4 separate regions of the Homo sapiens genome follow, and all the other regions are linked to region 1. The links are contacts of gene promoters, found by promoter capture Hi-C in blood cells and fetal thymus (Javierre and others, 2016). All regions are on one chromosome and are shown on one strand. The core of a region is centred on a gene start or on the middle of the fragment in contact, and the rest is flanking DNA. Distances in the headings are between cores, read along the strand shown.

Region 1 (3,603 bases), core at 717-3,216:
CAGGAGTCAAAACTACTCAGGTGTCTGTGGTCCACTAGGATTTATGGGCCTGTAGGGAATTACTGTGGAGAAGGGCAACTAAATCATTAATAGGAATCAAGATTGTTATTGGGGTGTAGTAGGGGTCCTCACATGACTACCAAAAGCTCAGTGCTGGTGTCTCTGAGGCACAGCAACTGCAAAGGCCCTACTCAAAGAGCCAGTGTATGGGGGCAAGTTGTCCCCTTGCCCTTCAGTGCTGGAATGGCTCATAGAGCCTGCCCCTTTCCCAAGCATGGCATTGATGTCTGCTCACAGCCTCCCTTATCTGTGTCTGCACGAAGCACCTTCTTCCAGCACCAGTCCCAGGAAGGGCTGGGCCCTCAGTTAATTCACAGACTAAGAGATGTAAAGTATCCAGTACCTCTCATAGGACCCAAAACATCAAAGACTTCTTCTCTCCCCTCAAAAATGGCCAAGACCTGAGAAGTACAAAATCCTTTTGCCCTCTGGGAGAAGGCAAGCCGACACACTACAATCCATTCTTTCTGTTTGTATCAGCCTCCATCTCAGAAATGTAAAAGACTCTACTTCCAAATATAGGCTTGCAAACATGCTGAAAGACAAAATGCATGCTAGGTCAGAGATGCCTGCTTTAAAGTCTCTTTTTTTTTTTTTCCTAAGAGAGGTGTGTGTGGGTGTATGTCTTTGAGCCTCTTGGCTGGATCAGGGTTTAAATGCTCAGGCGTGGCGGCTCATGCCTATAATCCCAGCACTTTGAGAGGCTGAGGCGGGCAGATCACTTGAGGTCAGGAGTTCAAGACCAGCCTGGCCAACCTGGTGAAACCCCCAACTCAACTAAAAATACAAAAATTATCTGGGTGTGGTGGTGCCCCTCTGTAATCCCAGCTACTCAGGACGCTTGAGAATGGGTGGCAGAGGGTTGCAGCGAGCCGAGATTGTGCCACTGCACTCCAGCCTTCTGGGGGACACAGTGAGAATCTGTCTCAAAAAAAAAAAAGAGTTTAAATGATGCCTCCAGAATTCTTTCTCTTTAATCCCTACATGTCATTGTTCTGCTTCCTCAGGGAGAACATCAGTCTTCCAGCCCATTTCAGAACAGCAAAGCCCCCCTGCCGCCCTACCCTACCCTTGCCCTGAGGCTTCAGGTTAACAAGGTCCTTAGCACCCAGTCAGCACGAGAAAGATCCTTTCTTTCCAAGACTCTCTGGAAAGGACTCCAGTGGGCTCTGCTTGGTCATATGCCTGTCCCTAGACCACAGGTGTGTTAAGGAAAATGGGGTGCGTAGATGGACCAGCTTGGGTCACACACAGTGCAGAGAATGTGAGGGAAACCCTCACCGGATGAGAGAGGGATCAATTCCTAAAAGGAAAAGATTTTTAGCAGACAACAAAACAAAACCAAAAAACCAAGTGTCGGCCACACTAGAGGTGACCAGTAAAGCTGACTTCCAAATTTCTGCTGCTAGGGAATGCTGATGTCGATCAAAGTGCGGAGAGCATATGAAAAATGGAGTTTTTAAAACGTTGAGTTTAAGGCGCCTGTAGGATATTTGAATGAGCTGGTCAGTAATTTCTTGGAAAAAATGACCCAGGGGCATTAAAAAAAGGTGTATGTTTAAAATGTACATTTTAAAATATAAAATGGATTCGTGTCAGGGTGCATCAAGGTATGCAACGGGAAACCCACCACAATTCTAAAGTGGGGAAGTTCTTCAGCAATTATAAATACTTTTTTTCTTTTTTAATTTTAGAAATTTACAGACACTTGCAAGCACCCCAAAAGCCGCACTTCCTCCAAATATCTCTGGACTCCCACTGCTTGACTTAGTTTTGGGGTCACCTCATCAGAGCCTACTTGGCCTACTGGCCCCAGACGAGGCGGCCGCGGACTACAATTCCCAGCGAGCACCGCGAGGGGCGGGGGAGGGGGCGGGGCGAGGGACGGCCGCGCGCGCCAGCTGCCAGGCGGGGATCGGGCGGCGCCGAGCTGAGGTGGTGAGGGACTAGCTCCCGGATGTGGAGAAGCTGGGGAGAAGGCGTGGGAGGAAGATGGACTCGGTGGAGAAGGGGGCCGCCACCTCCGTCTCCAACCCGCGGGGGCGACCGTCCCGGGGCCGGCCGCCGAAGCTGCAGCGCAACTCTCGCGGCGGCCAGGGCCGAGGTGTGGAGAAGCCCCCGCACCTGGCAGCCCTAATTCTGGCCCGGGGAGGCAGCAAAGGCATCCCCCTGAAGAACATTAAGCACCTGGCGGGGGTCCCGCTCATTGGCTGGGTCCTGCGTGCGGCCCTGGATTCAGGGGCCTTCCAGAGGTGCGCATGTGCGAGAGTGGGCGGCGCGGCCTGGGCGGGGGTCGGGAGAGGGAGTCGGGCTGCTGGAGGGGCTGGGGCCTCCGGGGCCACCGCTCTTGGAAGGGGGCCATCTCTCATGCCAGGGATGTGCAAGATCCGGGGTGCCTGGGGCCGGGCTGAGAGCCCAGGAGGAAGGGCTCCAGCTCCTTCCTTGTTCCGTAGCTGCCAATGGTCATAACCTGGGACAGTTCCTGTCTCCGCCCTTGAGAATCATCCGTAAAAGGGGAGATTACACCTCCCCAACCGTCCCCTCCTCCCGGGTTGACCTTACGGGGAAAAGTAAAGGAGGCCACCCCGGTGCAACATCTGTGATAATATGTGAACTTCTTTGGATGGGGGCCATCGAAGCTCCCCTGTTGCTCAGCCTCTGATAACTGCTTGGTGCTGCTCGATTAGGGAGGCATCAGGTTCATGAATGGAGTTGAGTGTCGGGGTGTCAGAGCTGAATTTCAAGCTCAGCTTGGAGATCTTTTCCTAACCTTTGAAAAATACTCCAGCTATCTTCCTGTGAGTCAGCACAATCTAGAAAACTCCCTACATTTATAAATACGTGAGACTCAGTGGGAAGGTGTACAACTGACTGTTTTATGATATATTAATACTTACAAATCATTTAATCATACCTTTGGAACCTCGCCTGCCCTATGGACAGTTTTAATTATGCGTAATTTAGATACATTGCCAAATTGGTCAGGAGTTACAAGCTGATGTTATTCATAAAAGAAGGGAGATCGAATTCTGTGCCAAGAATGAATTTACACATATAGCTTCAACCTAACTACATTTGAATGTGTTGTTATTGTGGAAATTAATTTATGTTAACCTTTTGATGTTTCGATTTTTAAAGAGATGACTGTTTTTGAAGTCATCTCTTTTTCTTTTTGAACCTATATTTGCTTACCCATATTAATATATGGGTAAATGATTTTCATTTAACCAGTCTTGTTCAAAAACGGGAGATGCCAAAAAAGTATAAATATACTAATTTTCTTAATGTTTCAACCCAAAAGAAGTCCTGGATGGACCAAGGCAAATAGGAGCCACCACTCAGAAGATAACACTAGTGCAATAGGAAGTGTGCGAAGGAGAGATAGGGAAGGACCTGGGGATTTTGTTCAATTCAGTAGCTATTTACTGAGCCCTAATTTCTGCTATACATGTCCAAGGGAATACCAAGATGATTGGGACACAGTTTTTGTCCTTGTGAAGCTCACAAACTTTGGGATATTTTTACATTCTTAGAAAGGGTACA
Region 2 (3,603 bases), core at 558-3,057, 350 kb after region 1:
ATAGCTGGTTGGCTTAATTTTATTGAATCATGCTGACAAAGACAAAAGCATACATTTTGTGTTTTGCTTATGATTAGAGCTGGCATTTCAGTGAAAACTTAGGTCATTTCAGAATGGCTCAAGTTTTGGCTATGTGGTTATGGTTGGCCTTGAAGTACATCAAAACCATGGTCTCCATTTTTACTTTTCTTTAACAATTCTTCCCTTTGGTCATTCTCTCAGTTGAACTGAGTGTGACCAATTATTCGCCATTACCTCAGTATTTACATGTTTTCTTTCTGTAGACATCTGTTGGTTACAAACTAGAATCTTGATAGGCTCTTTTGATGATTCTTGTTCTTGTAGTGTTTTCATTCAGTCTTCATGGAGATCATCTGCTGAGTTAGTGGCTGCTGACAAGCATTTAAAACTCTTGAAAGATGACAGCACAGAAGGATATTATGACTATAAATCATAGGAGGATAATGGCAAGCCTTTAAAAATATCCCAAATCCAAGGTCCCCAATAGCCAAGATTTAACAAATTAGATCAGTTGATTGTCCTTCCCCAATCTGGTGAATATCTGGATCTGATCTTTTAGATCTTTAAGATTTTGGGCTACAATTCCTGGCTTATTAATGTGTAAACAGCATTTTTTTTCTAATACGGCAGTTTCAATATAATAGATTTTCCTGGTTTGCAGTTTGAATGTCTCTGGTGATGCCATTGGGCATTCTGGTTAACTTTCTGCATGGCCCACACAGCAGGCAAAAAGGTTGTCAACATATGAGCTGCTGTGGTGATTTCTCTGAAATGCATATCAAGTCATCCAGCCCCAGCTTGTGGACCTGCAAGGCTAGGAACAACCCTAGTAGTATGATTTTAAAGCTATCAGAAACCTGTCAGAATTTTGCAATTTTGTAACATAGCTACTTGCAAAAACTTCTAGAAAAACCATCAGAGTAAAAAAATAACTATTTTTGAATGACAAAATACTTAAAATGACCACAGTTAAAGATGATGATAAGCATTTATATAAATGAAATTGATGAGGAAATATGGTTATTTCTGTGACATATAACATTTTAAGGTAATAACCAGGATTATAACTGATTATACAGACAATAAGAAAATTAAAAAATTTCTAACAACTCTATATAATTTTTGGAATACCTATATCCACATAAATATAATCTAAAGAAGGTTTATCATCACTTCTTATTTAACAATGCTTCCCATACAATTTAACATACCAAATAAACCTAATTATTTTAACATCTCTTTCTGATAAGACTAGATATTAATCCTTTGTGTTTCTCCAGCAGCCCTCTGGAAAATCTCAAAATTAGGTTGAGGTCAAGCAGATTGTATTTAAGATTTGGTTTGGGGAAGGTGAAATAGTCAAAAATGTCAAAAGATTTTAAACACTTGATTAAATGGGACACTTGAAACAATACTTAGTTATCCCTGTAACCAAAATAAGAATTAATGATTTCAAAGACAAATACAGAAAGTTATATAGTTGACAAAAACCTCAGCTCTTTTAACAGAGAAGTCTGTTTTCTTAAGTTGTCAGACATGATCAAGACAACATGAAGCAAAGGAAAGTATTTTGATAAGACCAAAATCCTTTTGTTTTTAGGCAAATCACTTAGGAGGTAAAGAGAAACCTTTCATAGTCACTTACCAGGAATACACCAATAACCTAAGAAAGCTTTGTTCTTTTAACAAAAATAAGACCAAAATCTAATTTTGTCTCAACATACTTTTGATACTAAGCCTCATTTTTAAACCATTATAATAAATTCATTTCATTTCAGCCAGCCTAACTACATAAGATTATCTCTCTTCATATTATCTCTTTCTCTTTCTCTCTCTCCCCCCACCCCAATTTCTATGTCCATTTAGTTTTTGTCCTTCATTTCCCTCTTTTTCATTTGAAACAAGCTTTAAACTCTAAAATAGAACAATAATTTTCTTTTTCTCAGCAAAAAACACATCCTTATACTTTATAACTTATCTTACCAAAAATAAACCTTACTTTCCTTGTCTAATTTATATTAATTCGTTTTTCTTATTATTTCTAGTGTCCTTAATTACATATATTAATTAATTCTTAGCTCTTAGTAAACTTAATTTTCAGCAAAAATGAGGAAGTATGCCATTTCATAACTATGAGAAAGCATCGTACAATTTTTAAATGTAGCACGTTTACTTACAAACTCAAATATCTTTAGTGTCTGTAATAAGAAGCTGCAGAGTAGGCAAAATTTTATTTCTATCCTCTTAGAGTTTTCAGCTGAGACTGAGAAACAAATTTTTGTTTGTACAGATTTCCCTTTGCCTCAACTTTGCATTCTTGACAAGAATGTTACTTCCCTTCTTATAAGGGGAGAACATCTTTCATGTGGAAATTTTATCTTCTGCTTTTAAGAATTAGAAGGGAGAGGTTCCAAGATGGCCAAATAGAAACAACTCCAGTCTATAGCTCCCAGTGTGAGCGATGCAGAAGATGGGTGATTTCTGCCTTTTCAACTGAGGTACCGGGTTCATCTCACTGGGGCTTGTCAAACAGTGGGTGCAGGACAATGGATGCAGCCCACGGAGTGTAAGCCAAAGCAGGGCGGGCATCGCCTCACCCAGGAAGTGCAAGGGGTCAGGGAATTCCTTTTCCTGGCCAAGGGAAGCTGTGACAGATGGTACCTGGAAAATCGGGACACTCCCACTCTAATACTGTGCTTTTCCAATGGTCTTAGCAAATGGCACACCAGGAGATTATATCCCGCACCTGGCTGGCTGGGAGGGTCCCACGCCCACAGAGCCTCGCTCACTGCTAGCACAGCAGTCTAAGATCGAACTGCAAGGTGGCAGCAAGGCTGGGGGATGGGCGTCCACCATTGCTGAGGCTTGAGTAGGTAAACAAAGCAGCTGGGAAGCTCGAACTGGGTGGAGCCCACCACAGCTCCAGGAGGCCTGCCTGCCTCTGTACACACCACCTCTGGGGGCAGGGCATAGCGGAACAAAAGGCAGCAGAAACTTCTGCAGGCTTAAATGTCTCTGTCTGACAGCTTTGAAGAGACTAGTGGTTCTCCTAGCACAGAGTTTGAGATCTGAGAATGGATAGACTGCCTCCTCAAGTGGGTCCCTGACCCTCAAGTAGCCTAACCGGGAGGCACCTCCCAGTAGGGGCCAACTGACACCTCATACACCTGGGTGCCCCTCTAAGACGAAGCTTCCAGAGGAAGGATCAGGAAGCAACATTTGCCGTTCCACAATATTTGTTGTTCTGCAGCCTCCGCTGGTGATACCCAGGCAAACAGGGTCTGGAGTGGAACTCCAGCAAACTCCAACAGACCTGCAGGTGAGGGTCCTGACTGTTAGAAGGAAAACTAACAAACAGAAAGGACATCGACACCAAAATCCCATCTGTACATCACCGTCATCAAAGACCAAATGTAGATAAAACCACAAAGATGGGGAGAAGCCAGAGCAGAAAAGCTGAAAATTCTAAAAATCACAGCGCCTCTTCTCCACCAAAGGAATGCAGCTCCTCACAAACAATGGAACAAAGCTGGATGGAGAATGACATTGACGAGTTGAGAGAAGAAGGCTTCAGACAATCGG
Region 3 (3,603 bases), core at 331-2,830, 310 kb after region 1:
GGGCTCCTGTTGTTGGTCCTAAGAGCAAAGTAGCAATATATTTATGGATACAATGTCTTCAGGGCCATAGCAAGTGCAGCGTTCCTATAAATATATCATTTCTATTTTAACACTGAGCTCTGTTGAGCTGCTCCTTCCTTATCAGAATGAATCTGACATTACCTATGACATCAAGGTACTTTAGATCTCAGAATTATTTGAAATCCCTGAGTGGTGGGAACAATCTCCACTAAAGCCCAGTAAAAGGGCAGTAATTGTCTCTCAAAGGGGCCATATCTTGTCTTGACATCAAGTATCTTCAAATTCAATATTCTTCCAGCAGTCACTGCTTAGTGCAAGGAGAACAGTGTTAACAACTTTGGCAAGAGACTACAATCTGCACATATCTATCTAGATAGTAAAAACCTCCAAAATAATTTGTACAGTAGGCCAACCCAAATAGTGCTGTTTTGGGTTACAGCTCTCTGTAAGTCTTCAAAGCCTGTTTTTGTTTTGGGATATCTTTCAAATTCACACTTTTCTTTCTTGTCACTCGATGTATTTTAGCTAGCAAGATGCCCAGGAACAGCGAGTGGTGTCCCCCAAGCCCAAAATGCCCCACAGATTTTTGTGTCTCCTTCTTATTAGCAGAGCCTAGCAAACACATTCATTTATTCTCTGCCTTCGGTGGACTGTCTCTTGCGGCCTTCACTCCAAGCCACGTTCAAGTGTTTAACTGATTGAGCTGTATTTTAACCACACAGATTAGCCATCTTCAACTACTCATAGATGCCAGTACTGTTCTCAGATCCTCCTAGGCTTCCCGCTCTGACAGGGAAACTTTCCTGTTATCATTAATGCATATATCAACTTGCATTTGACTGTGATTAAGTCTAAACCTTACCTCACCAACTCGTCAAAATATACTGGAGAATTCAACTACTTGTAGCAGAGAATGGTGAGTGTATATCAATCATTCCCCTGAAAAGGGACATTTTGCCTGATTTCTTCTAAGACTAGGACAGAAAAGAAAAAAAAAAACACCACGACTTTCACAGCATCCCAGTCATATTACCCTATTGGTTTCCTAAATAGGTTCACCCATGTCTGACATGATGGGGGTTATCAATGGAGCTACTTGGTTTAAGCCACAATAAACAAGTTACTTTACAGGAGTCACCCATTTTTCTTCCCACAAGCAAGAGAGGACGGTTGTAAAGCAAGCTGTTGGAAATTAGTATCATTCTACTATATTTTAATTTTAATTTTTATTATTTTTAAAATAAATGCTATTGTGTATATTTGAGGTTTACAATATGATGTTATTGGATACATTTAAATAGTAAAATAGTTACTGCAGTGAAGCAGATTAATATATCTATCATCTCACATGGTCACTTTCTTTTTGTGGCAAGAGCAGCTAAAATGTGCTTAATGAAATCCCGAATACGATATAATTTCATTAACTGCAGTCCTCATGTACATTAGATCTCTAGACTTGTTCATCCTACATATCTGCTACTTTGTATCCTTTGACCTTCATCACCCCATTTCCTTCACATCCCCCCACCCCAGTAACCACTGTTTTATTCTCTGTCTCTATGTATTTGACATTTTTTTAAAAGATTCCATATGTAAGTGAGATCATTAAATACATTTCTTTCTGTTTCTGGCTTATCTCACTTAGCATAATGTCCTCCAGGTCCGTCCATGTTGTGACAAATGGCAGGATCTCCTTTTTTAAGGCAGAACAGTATTGTATCTCATATATATATGAGATATATATATGAGATATATGTAGATGAGATATATATGAGATATATAGATGATATATATATGAGATATATGTATATGAGATATATATGAGATATATGTATATGAGATATATATATGAGATATATGTAGATGAGATATATATGAGATATATGTAGATGAGATATATATATGATATATGTAGATGAGATATATATGAGATATATGTAGATGAGATATATATATGTTATATGTAGATGAGATATATATGATATATGTAGATGAGATATATGTATGATATATGTAGATGAGATGTATATGATATATGTAGATGAGATATATATATGATATATGTAGATGAGATATATATGATATATGTAGATGAGATATATATATGAGATATATGTAGATGAGATATATATGAGATATGTAGATGAGATATATATATGAGATATATGTAGATGAGATATATATATGAGATATATGTAGATGAGATATATATGAGATATATGTAGATGAGATATATATGAGATATGTAGATGAGATATATATGAGATATATGTAGATGAGATATATATGAGATATATGTAGATGAGATATATATATGTGATATATATGAGATATATATGAGATATATGTAGATGAGATATATATGAGATATATGTAGATGAGATATATGAGATATATGTAGATGAGACATATATGATATATATGTAGATGAGATATATATGCGATATATATGAGATATATATATGAGATATATGTAGATGAGATATATATATGAGATATATGTCGATGAGATATATATATGACATATATGTCGATGAGATATATATATGAGATATATGTATGAGATATATATGAGATATATGTACATGAGATATATATGAGATATATGTAGATGAGATATATATGAGATATATGTAGATGAGATATATATATGAGATATATGTATATGAGATATATATATGAGATATATGTAGTTGAGATATATATGAGAGATATATGTAGATGAGATATATATACAAGATATATGTATACGAGATATATATATATGAGATACAATACTGTTCTGCCTTAAAATATATCTGAGATATATATATATCAGATTATCTTTATCCATTTGCTCATCAGCAGACACTTACACTGTTTCCCTATCATGGGCATTGTGAATAATGCTGTAATAAACATGAGAATGCAGATATCTTTATGAGTTGGTGATTTCATCTCTTTTGGGCATGTAACCAGAAGAGGGATTGCTGGGTCATATGGTTGTTCTACTTTTAATTTCTTTAGGAATCTCCATACTGTTTATCCATAGAGGCTACACCAATCTACATTCTTACTATAGGATTAAACCACTCTATTATATATTTAAATTAAAGCTGGAAATTTCTTGTTATCCTTCTGGGATTTGGGTATTGCTTAATATTCACTATGGAGGAGAGTTTGGACAATTCTAAGATTTCCTAATTAACATACTCAATTAAAATCAGGCAAAGGGTAGAAGAAGTCCCAGCAACAGCAAAGCCTTCCATTCACAATGACACTTATTCCAACTATGCACTCAGATGCATGTTTTGTGTCTTGGGTTTTTGTTGTTGTTTTGTTTCTTTTTCACTTTTTAAACAGTGGCTTCACCATAACCCTAGGACTTACCATGACAACATCGCTATGCCCCTAAAAGGCTCTTTTTTGGTTTCCTGATATTTTCCTCCCACTATATAGCAGATGTTATGGTTTATTGCTCACCAGAATCCAATAATTGCATCAACCCAAGGCTGTTCTGTTTAGACATAACATGTAGTCTTGGATCCCCCAGTGGAATTCAAGTCAATCTTCTTTGCTTTATTTAACAGGTAGAGTAAACCC
Region 4 (3,603 bases), core at 591-3,090, 290 kb after region 1:
TTACAATTCAAGATAAGATTTGGGTGGGGACACAGAGCCAAACTATATCACACACAGGTCTCAGTTCTGTCACAGTGTTGTGATCCGCTCATGTGATGTGTGTTTGTTTTTGTTTTCTTTTTCTCCCCATGTATAAATCCAGTGCATTATTCAAGACCAAGCCAAGTTATCTAGAAAGTTCTCATTCAATAATGTGTTCCCAGGACACCTAAAACACAGACTTTATGAGAACTCAATAAATATTTGTGGTATCTGCTTCTACTCTCTTTGACCTCCTGTTCTGATGTCATAGTATTTGCTGGCTCTGACTGATGATTAAACACTTAGTTGTGTTGTGTTGTCTTGTATTGCTAGTATTTTTCATATATAACTATGTCTCACCAACTAGGCAGGAAGGGGATTTAGTTTTATGTATCAAATGAAAAGCCTGTGCTTTTGATCAAATTAGGACTCCACAGGGCATGGCTAAGTGTCTAGGAGAAGAGCAAGAACAATATTTCACATTTTCTTCATGTTCCTCCAGGTATCAACTCAGGCACTTCAACAAATAATTGTTGCTTGGTTTTATAATGAGATCCTCAAACTTATTCAGTCTATTGCCAAGGCATCACTGTTTAAGGAAAAGTATGAACCCCCAAGTTTTAATGTTTTAAATAAAATATTTTAATTGATATTTAGCCATCTTGTTTGTATGACTTATAGTAAGTAGCTTAGGTATTCTTTTATACTTCTGCATCTGAGTATGCTTAGCGGACACAAACAGGATTTCCTCAGGGACTAAACAACTTTTAAAACTCTATAAATGTGTAGTAGAAAAATGTAAAGGCAGGAGTCCAGATTAAACAGAATTGTCAGTGATTTGAGATAAAATTTTAAAAGGCCAATCTTCAGTCTCTGCTCAAGTTCTTCTTGTCAGAATGGCTTGGAATGGCCAGTCAAAAGCATAAAATGATGCCTGTTTCACAACCAATTACAACACCAAGGTAAATAAGGTTGTAGATTGAGAAAGGTTATAAATATAGTTTATCTGAATAAATGCATTTATTTATCTCCACTCCCTATTGTGACCTCACTAAAAGAAGAGTAAAGGAGTAAAAGTGAAAAAGATTCAGAAGAACAAGAAAAAACGAAGGAATACAAAAGCAGACAAAGGATGTCAAAAAGTTCACAAGCAGGAAAGCAATTAAACAAGTGTTAACTGACTTATCAGGAGAGAGAAAGGTCTGGGCCTTCAAGTAACTCTGTGTGTGTGTGTGTGTGTGTGTGTGTGTGTGTGTGTGTGTGTGTGTGTGTGTCCACGTGCACAGAAAATTGAGGAGCATAGAGAGAAGCCAACAAGAATCAAGCTAATTTATACTAGAGAGTTCTTGAAAGGCTCAGAAACGAAGGCACCTAGGACCTCTGGAGATGGAGGTAATGAATGAAACAAACTAAGAGGTTTGTTGGAAATCTTTAAAAAGGAGCAGTTGAAACATCTAGATCTTATTCCCCAACTGGCTTAAAACGGGAGGTTAAATCTCTAGAGACTGACCAGCACAAAAGAGAAGACCTACAGATTCTGATATGTTTAAGAGATCTCCAATCGAATGGCCAAATCCCTGTCTAACACCCTCTAGTGAGACCCATTAGTGTATAAGCTCTGCCTACACCGAGTTTCGTGGCCTCTTTTTCAGGCCTCCTTCTTAAATATGAGGGGAGAGTCAAGGATCCCTAGACATTTGAAGAGAGTCTCCAACATGAAAGTAGAGACAAAACAAGCAAATGATCACACACAGAAATCAACTCTAGGAAAAAATGATAATGCAGGAAACATAAGAAATCTTCAATAAAAACCATAATTAATATTCTCACATGGACTGAGACACAATCCAATGAAGCAAGAACAAAAGGAATGTTCAGATGACTAAAAATAAAGTCCTTTGAAACTTAAAATATGGTAACAAAATATATAACAGAATTCATAGAAAAGTTGAATTACAAAGTTAAAGAAATATCCCAGAAAGTAGGCCAAAAATATAAAAGAGGGTAAACAAGATAATAAATTATAGGCTCAAAGAAAAAATAAATATCCAAACAACAAGAAACAAAAAGCAGATTTTCAAAGACATACTAAAAAGAATCCTAAAATTTAAGAGTTCATTAAGGACTCAATAAAATGAATTTTTTAAACCTACACCAAAGGTATATAACACTGAAATTTTAGAAAATAAGAAACAGAAAATAATGGAAGTTTAAAGAAGAAAATGCATGCAAAAGATTGGAAATTATGTTGGGATTAGATTTATTTAAAGCAAGAAAGCTGAAAATCAACAACTTTACTTGGGCTCAATAAAGAACTAAAGTTACAAGGCAATTCCCCTCTCCTCCAAAATGGAGAAATGGACAAATCCAGAGCCAGAGTTGAGGTATGTTTATCTGGAGCAGAAGATGTTGAAGCCATAAACTGGTAGGAACGCTTCAGTGGTCATTTGGAATTGGCATAGTGGAATTGCTGGAGGCTAAGTGTGGACTAGAGTGAAAGGGAGAAACTCCTGGGGATCACAATCAGGAAGTCCTGGAGATCATAGTCAGGTGGGCCTCCACACTTTTTATAGTTTTACCTCCAAGAATCTCACTCACACAGGATGGGGGCCAGGGAAGTATTGGGTAAAAAAGGACAGTGTCCCTGGAGATGGCTCCACCCTCAGGCCTGTGCCCACAGACCTAAGTGAGAACAGGCACTCCTGTTTTCGTGCCCAAATGTTGCATTTTCCAAGACTGCTCTGGCCTACCATGCCCCCCATCCTGTTCCCATATAAACCTAAGGCCTTAGCAGGCACAGACGCAAGCAGCTGAAGGTTGAGCGAAGCAGAAGAACACACCAGCAGACACCAGCAGACCGGCAGACCAGCAACGGCAGAACGACATGGCAGAGAAAGAAAGAAGAGCAGGGACATCTGGATGCCAAGAGGAGTTCGGCCGGGGGCGGTTAGAGAAGAGTCTGGCAGCTGGGCAGCCCAACTCCTGAGGAAGACCACATTTCCATTCCATCCCCCTCTTCCAGCTCCCCATCCATCTTGCTGAAAGCCACCCCCACCACTCAATAAAACTTTGCACTGATCCTTCCAGCCCACATGTGATCCGATTTTTCCAACACACTGGGTAAGAGCTCAGGATACAGAAAGCTGTCACACTGGCCCTCTGCCCTTGCAATAAGGCAGAGGGTCTATTGAGCTGATTAACACAAGCTGTCTGCAGACAGCAAAGCTGAAAAAGCACACTGTAACACATGCCCACTTGGGCTTCGGGAGTCGCAGACACCCATCCCTAGATGCTGCCATGGGGCCAAAGCCCAAAAGTGCTCCACACAGCCTCTGCACCTACCCATCTGCATGCTCCCCCTAGGAGTTTGAGTAGCAGGGCCACCGAAGGCGCAAGCCACACCCCTGTTGCATGTCCTGTGAGGAGAATAAGGGAACTCTCCTGTTTCATCATCAGGTTTTCAGGAAGAGAAACTGAGAAAGATCATCTTAAGGTTTTACATGGGTAGGGAAGAGTAACCACTGTGAAATATACCCAGAAGATTATCTACAACAAAGCCCTACTCTTCAGGGCAGAAAACCT

What was found. Contacts are between HindIII fragments. The CHiCAGO score rates a contact against its expected background, and 5 or more counts as called.
Region 2: a fragment that was not itself captured here is called in contact with the fragment with the promoter of CMAS in region 1 in 10 of 17 cell types (naive CD4 T cells, activated CD4 T cells, total CD8 T cells and 7 more); the score reaches 11.2 in naive CD4 T cells.
Region 3: a contact is called between a fragment that was not itself captured here and the fragment with the promoter of CMAS in region 1, in 1 of 17 cell types (erythroblasts). The highest score is 6.6, in erythroblasts.
Region 4: a fragment that was not itself captured here is called in contact with the fragment with the promoter of CMAS in region 1 in 2 of 17 cell types (non-activated CD4 T cells and erythroblasts); the score reaches 6.5 in non-activated CD4 T cells.

The regions. Positions count from the first base shown.
Region 1 is chr12:22,044,252-22,047,854 of GRCh38, forward strand. CMAS (cytidine monophosphate N-acetylneuraminic acid synthetase) reads left to right here and starts at 1,967. Exons shown (of 8, transcript NM_018686.6): 1 at 1,967-2,312. The coding sequence starts at 2,053. RefSeq lists enhancers at 1,784-2,078, 2,394-3,099 and silencers at 1,851-2,220, 1,864-2,091. The HindIII fragment of the contact is 10,395 bases long and covers 1-3,603 here.
Region 2 is chr12:22,397,672-22,401,274 of GRCh38, forward strand. No RefSeq gene overlaps it. Among named protein-coding and RNA genes, the nearest start is that of ST8SIA1, 65 kb to the left of the region's middle. The HindIII fragment of the contact is 233 bases long and covers 1,692-1,924 here.
Region 3 is chr12:22,356,187-22,359,789 of GRCh38, forward strand. No RefSeq gene overlaps it. Among named protein-coding and RNA genes, the nearest start is that of ST8SIA1, 23 kb to the left of the region's middle. The HindIII fragment of the contact is 7,951 bases long and covers 1-3,603 here.
Region 4 is chr12:22,336,943-22,340,545 of GRCh38, forward strand. No RefSeq gene overlaps it. Among named protein-coding and RNA genes, the nearest start is that of ST8SIA1, 4.0 kb to the left of the region's middle. The HindIII fragment of the contact is 6,355 bases long and covers 1-3,603 here.